Linked DNA regions of Homo sapiens: region 2 is linked to region 1. Evidence: promoter capture Hi-C in 16 types of primary human blood cells and fetal thymus (Javierre and others, 2016). All regions are on one chromosome and are shown on one strand. Each heading gives the region's core, a stretch centred on a gene start or on the middle of the fragment in contact. The rest is flanking DNA. Distances are from core to core; before and after follow the strand shown.

Region 1 (2,865 bases), core at 1-2,500:
AAGAATGAAAGAAACCTTTTTCATTTACCCCTTTCCTTTTTTTTTTTTTTTTACCTCGTATCATTAGAAAAAAACTCAAAATAATCATGCTCAGGCATAGGTTGAAGATGTTCCTGAAGCTGCTCCTTGGTCAAAGTGGGAGGTAATCTTCGAATTACCACCTTAAGAAATGCATAAGGAAAATAAAATTAGTACAAATCAGTTTTCTGTCATACCTGAAAGAATCACAGTTCCTGAAGAAGGCTGGGCTTTAAAATATGAGATCACTTGTAAAAACCCAGGAGAAAATATTCTTCTGCAGCCCAATGCTCAGAATTAGTCAAACATAATAGTAACGCGGTTTAAAAAAACCCTTGGAAATGAGAACCACCTGGAGCAAGGAAAAATCGCAGGTTTTGCTCTTTACAGCAGCCCTGCAGTTTACCAGGTTTGTGCATCATTTTCGATCACCCATTTTTTAACAGATCTAGTGGCAATAACTTAGTAAGCCAACGCTGGTCTTTGTGGGTGCCACGAAATCTTGATTTAGCAACAAGTTTCTCCCACGTCCAACACATCTTAAAACAAAATCCTTGCCCATTGAACTTAAGAATTCAAAACTCTAACGAATACAAAAAATCTACCCATTGCTCTCAAAATAGGATGCTCTCGATCTACCCTCCTGTACCATTAATCACCCTGCACTCTCCCCCAACTCGCCTCCATGAATAATATTCCCATCCCTCATGTCTCCTTCACTATTTAATATTTCTCCCCAATTACACCTTTAGTTCCTCATTCTTTATACCGTCGCTCTTCCCTCCCATTATCATCTCACAGCTCTGACCTAAACCCTTCCCGTTTGGGGAGTCCCCTCTTTTCCTCACCCCCACCCAGGATTTGGCCGGGAGGGGCTCTCCCCATTTCGGGTGAATGGATGAACCAGGATGATGCGACTTCCATTCAGGCGAAGAGATAGAAGGAGAACCTGAGAAAGAAAGGGGGCAGCCCCATTCCCAGCCATCCTCCCCGCGCTGCGGACTCGTCCCGCCCTCTCCCGGGCCAGCGGCCGACCGGGCACCTTGCTCAGCGCTTCTTTCTTCTCCTTGTTGCGATCCTGCTTATCTTCCCCCTTGGAGCTGTCCCCCGAGGTCCCACCACCGCTGCCTGTGGCCCCGGCGGGGGTTAACAGGGTTACTCGCTTCTCCTTAGGCCTGTGCTCCTTCTCTTCCTTCATGGCTACGTCCCCCGCTGAAGCGGCTTGGCCGGAACGGGGTTACCCCGGGCACAAACGGCTCCCGGGAAGCTCCCGTCAAAGCTCCGCCCCCAACAAATGCCCCTTGTGATAAGTCGGGCCCCACGTTCCATTGGGTCCTGCCAAGCTCTCGCGAGACTTGGGCCTTTCCCAGTGCAAAGGTTTTAACACCTGGTTTTTACTTCCCGCCCGCCAAGTTCCTGCGCCACCCAATCCCCTCGCGGCCCAGACTCCCTCGGGGCCCGCCCCTTCGCGCGTCATTAGCAATTCCGCCATCTTGAAGTGACTCTGTCGGGGACTACAAATCCCGGCATACAAAGCAGCTACCCGCTTTTGTTGGGCGTTCAGGGGCCAGAGCTATCTCAGGGTCCCTGTTTGTGAGTAAATCGAATCCTTTCATCTTCAGAGTTTTCCAGGTCGAAAGATAGGTTCTTCACGCTTAGTTTCCATCAGATAAACTCAATGCCGTCCAAATTTTGCCTCACTAGGGGAGCGACTTGTATTTTTTATCATTGAATTCAGAGGCTTTAGCATTTATTTTCCTACAACTAAAAGAAAAAGCCTAACATTTAAAAAACTTTATTTTCCTTATATTGATTAGGATTTACAGATACTTAGTAAATACTACAATATTAGCCGAGTTCAGTGGCGCACGCCTGTAGTCCCAGCTGCTCGGGAAGGTTGAGAAGAGAGGATCTTGAGCCCAGGAATTCGAGGCTGCAGTGAGCCATGATCGCGCCGCTGCACTCCAGCTTGGGCGACAGAGCGAGACCCTGTATATAAAAAAGAAGGATAATAATAAATAAACACAAGATACTGATATTTAAAGGAGTAATATGACTAAAATATACAAGATTTGTTTTCATCACCTTATTTTAGCAAAAGGATCCTTCTCCCCAGGTACTGATGTCCCACAGGGAGGGGAATAAAAATAAAACCCAACTTGATTTAGTTGCGATCACCATCTTCACTTAAAAAGGGCCAATTTTACATTATTTATAATAACTCCAAACTGGAAACAATCCAAATGTGAATCTAACAGTGATTATGTTGAGTGACAGAATCTAGACACAGAGTACATGTTGTACAATTCCATTTATATGAAATTTTAGAAAAATAAAACCACAGTGATAGAAAGCAGATCAGTCGGCCAGGCGTGGTGGCTCACGCCTGTAATCCCAGCACTTTAGGAGGCCAAGGTGGGTGGATCACCTGAGGTCAGGAGTTCGAGACCAGCCTGGCTAACTTGGCGAAACCCTGTCTCTACTAAAAACAAAAAAAATTAGCAGGGCGTGGTGGCACATTCCTGTAATCCCAGCACTTTGAGAGGCCGAGGCCGGCGGATCACCTGAGATCAGGAGTTCGACACCAGCCTGGCCAACTTGGTGAAACCCTGTCTCTACTAAAATACAAAAATTATCTGGGCATGGTGGCAGGCGCCTGTAGTCCCAGCTATTTGGGAGGCTGAGGCAGGAGAGTCACTTGAACCTGGGAGGCGGAGGTTGCAGTGAGCCGAGGTTGTGCCACCGCACTCCAACCTGGGTGACAGAGTGAGACTCCATCTCAAAAAGAGAGAGAGACACAGACACCCATAGAGGACAGAAACCAAATTAAAGATGCAATAGGAGCCC
Region 2 (2,865 bases), core at 243-2,742, 230 kb before region 1:
CAGCTGTGCTGATCGGTGGTTACCCAGCCATGGTGGTTGCAAATACCTCAGGGAAACTAACAGCAACCAGAACTGGAACAGGGGAGCTGGTGGGAAAGAGTAGCAGATGGGCCCCCTGACCATGTCACACCTCTGGCAAAGATGTGGGGGAAGACAGGGGGGATGGCTGGGGGTGCTGGGAGGGGGACTGGGATGCAGGATGCATCTGCGAGCCACATGACTGTTGGCTTCTTGACCAGCGGCCAGACATCACCCTCAGATTCTCAGGTTTCTATAAACCTTGGCAGGAAGAGAGGAGAGGGCGCGGGTTGGATTGTATGCCCCCCAGGCATGTTAAGGGGGAAATTAGAGAAAGGGAGGCCCAGCTCTGTTGCGCAGGAAAAGGGTGTCTACAGGAAGCCCAAACTGAAAATGAAAAGAGAAGCTGAGTTAATGAATGGATAGATTAATGTACCAAAAAAAAAAAAAAGTCAGAAGAAAATTAAGTAATGAGGACTAATGGCTAAATTAGAATATAGCTATGTTAGATGGTCTTAAGGTCTTATTGCATTGGCTCCGGGGAACATGCTTTCTCTCTCATACACTCCACACACACTCCCACATGATGGCAGCAGTGGCATTAGCCAGCAAAATAATGATCAACAACCACAAAAATACATTTTATCTTTCTTTCTTTTTTTTTTTTTTTTTGAGACAGAGTCTTGCTCTGTCACCCAGGCTGGAGTGCAGTGGTGCGATCTCGGCTCGCTGCAAGCTCTGCCTCCCGGGTTCACGCCATTCTCCTGCCTCAGCCTCCCCAGCAGCTGGGACTACAGGAGCCCGCCGCCACACCCGGCTAATTTTTTTGTATTTTTAGTAGAGACGGGGTTTCACCGTGTTAGCCAGGATGGTCTCGATCTCCTGACCTCATGATCTGCCCGCCTTGGCCTCCCAAAGTGCTGGGATTACAGGCGTGAGCCACTGCACCCGGCTCTTTTTTGTTGTTGTTGTTGAGATGGAGTTTTGGTCTTTTGCCCAGGCTGGAGTGCAGTGGCCGTGATCTTGGCTCACTGCAACCTCCATCTTCCAATTTCAAGCGATTCTCCTGCCTCAGCCTCCTGAGTATCTGGGATTACAGGCGCCTGCCACCACGCTCGGCTAATTTTTGTATTTTTAGTAGCGACGGGGGTTTCATCATGTTGGCCAGGCTGGTCTCGAACTCCTGACCTCAAGTGATCCACCCGCCTCAGCCTCCCAAAGTGCTGGGATTACTGGCGTGAGGCACTGAGCCCGGCCTATCTCTTCTTAATGACTAGGTCCTGACTAGTGTCCCCCACCACCCACCCCCAGCACCACCACCCACCCCCAGCACCACCACCCAATACCTTGTACAGGAATACCTTCCACAAATCTCTAAGTGGCCTCAGGCCACTGGATAGAGCCCCAGGCTCTAGCCACTGCATTTCCTGTCCCATTGGGAAAGTAGAGGAGGCTGAGGTTTCACCCCAGGAGATCCTTAGAGCTGTCCTAGTCAGCTAACTGGTACTCTGGGGCAAGACCTGTTTGCAGAGCATATGGGGATGATTGCAGAACTCTGTTCTAGGGTCCAGACCACAGTTACCTGAAAATGTGAACTATGGAAACCCATCATTGGTTTGTGCTTAAATAATACTTTGACCTCTCTTCCATGTAAATTTCATTCCTGTGACATAAATACAGCAAGTAGAACTGATCCCCATTTCATATGAGTAGACCAAGAAACACAGAGAAGTCAACAGACTTGCCTGTGGCTGCAAAGAGTCACAGCTGGGCCCAGAGCTGGTGTGTGTGTGTGTGTGTGTGTGTGTGTGTGTGTGTGTGTGTGTGTGTATTTTTATTTCTTTTGAGATGGAGTCTTGCTCTGTCACCCAGGCTGGAGTGCAATGGTGCGATCTTGGCTCACTGCAACCGCCGCCTCTGGGGTTCAAGCAATTCTCCTGCCTCAGCCTCCCAAGTAGCTGGGATTATAGGCACCCGCCACCATGCCCAGCTAATTTTTGTATTTTTAGTAGAGACAGGGTTTCACCATGTTGGCCAGGCTGGTATTGAACTCCTGACCTCGGGTGATCCTCCTGCCTCGGCCTTCCAAAGTGCTGGGATTACAGGCGTGAGCCATCATGCCCAGCCAACTCTCTTAAAAAAAAAAAAAAAAAATAGAGAGATAGGGTTTCACCATGCTGCCCAGGCTGGTCTCCAACTCCTGGGCTCAAGTGATCCTCCCACCTCAGCCTCCCAAAGTGCTAGGATTACATAAGTGAGCCACCTCGCCCAGCTTCCATTTACTCATCTTGCAAACTGGGGATTATTCCTTCTCTACCTCACAGACCTGTTGTAAGTATAAAATGAGATACTATACAAAAGACAAAAACAAAAACAAAACAACAACAACAAAAAAAAACACTTTGGAAAGTAATAAAAGCTATACAAATGCTCATATCTTATTTTTATTCTTTGTCTACTTCCTAGGGGAAGAGTAATCTAAAAAACACTGCAATGGCCTATGTTCTAGGTTTCATGGGAAGGCTGACGTATTTTGATGTGTGTATACTATCCATATACTGTGCACTCCTAAGGACCAATAATGATTGAGGTAGAGTATCTGCAACGATGTAGGGGGTCACAAAGGAATCGCTTTTACAAATGCAGAGAGCTATAAGTAGTGCCTCAAGCAATTTCAAAATGTGGAGGCACAGTAAGCCTCACTCTGCCTGCATTCTAGGTGGCCTTCGTGATCCACCCCTTGAATGAGGGCTTTGAGGAGGGGGCGGGTTGCCTTTGCTGCTTTCAGATCCTGGGGAGCCAAAGCCTCCCCTGACTCGTTGGTCTGAAATTGCTTTCGTGGTCTGC

What was found. Contacts are between HindIII fragments. The CHiCAGO score rates a contact against its expected background, and 5 or more counts as called.
Region 2: a contact is called between a fragment that was not itself captured here and the fragment with the promoter of UPF3B in region 1, in 1 of 17 cell types (naive CD8 T cells). The highest score is 5.5, in naive CD8 T cells.

What each region holds. Positions count from the first base shown.
Region 1 is chrX:119,851,713-119,854,577 of GRCh38, forward strand. It overlaps UPF3B (UPF3B regulator of nonsense mediated mRNA decay), which reads right to left and starts at 1,251. Exons shown (of 11, transcript NM_080632.3): 1 at 1,061-1,251; 2 at 55-161. The coding sequence starts at 1,216. RefSeq lists an enhancer at 1,226-1,285. The HindIII fragment of the contact is 8,775 bases long and covers 1-2,865 here.
Region 2 is chrX:119,619,647-119,622,511 of GRCh38, forward strand. SEPTIN6 (septin 6) reads right to left here. Exons shown (of 11, transcript NM_145799.4): 11 at 1-405. Among named protein-coding and RNA genes, the nearest start is that of NKRF, 15 kb to the left of the region's middle. The HindIII fragment of the contact is 8,378 bases long and covers 1-2,865 here.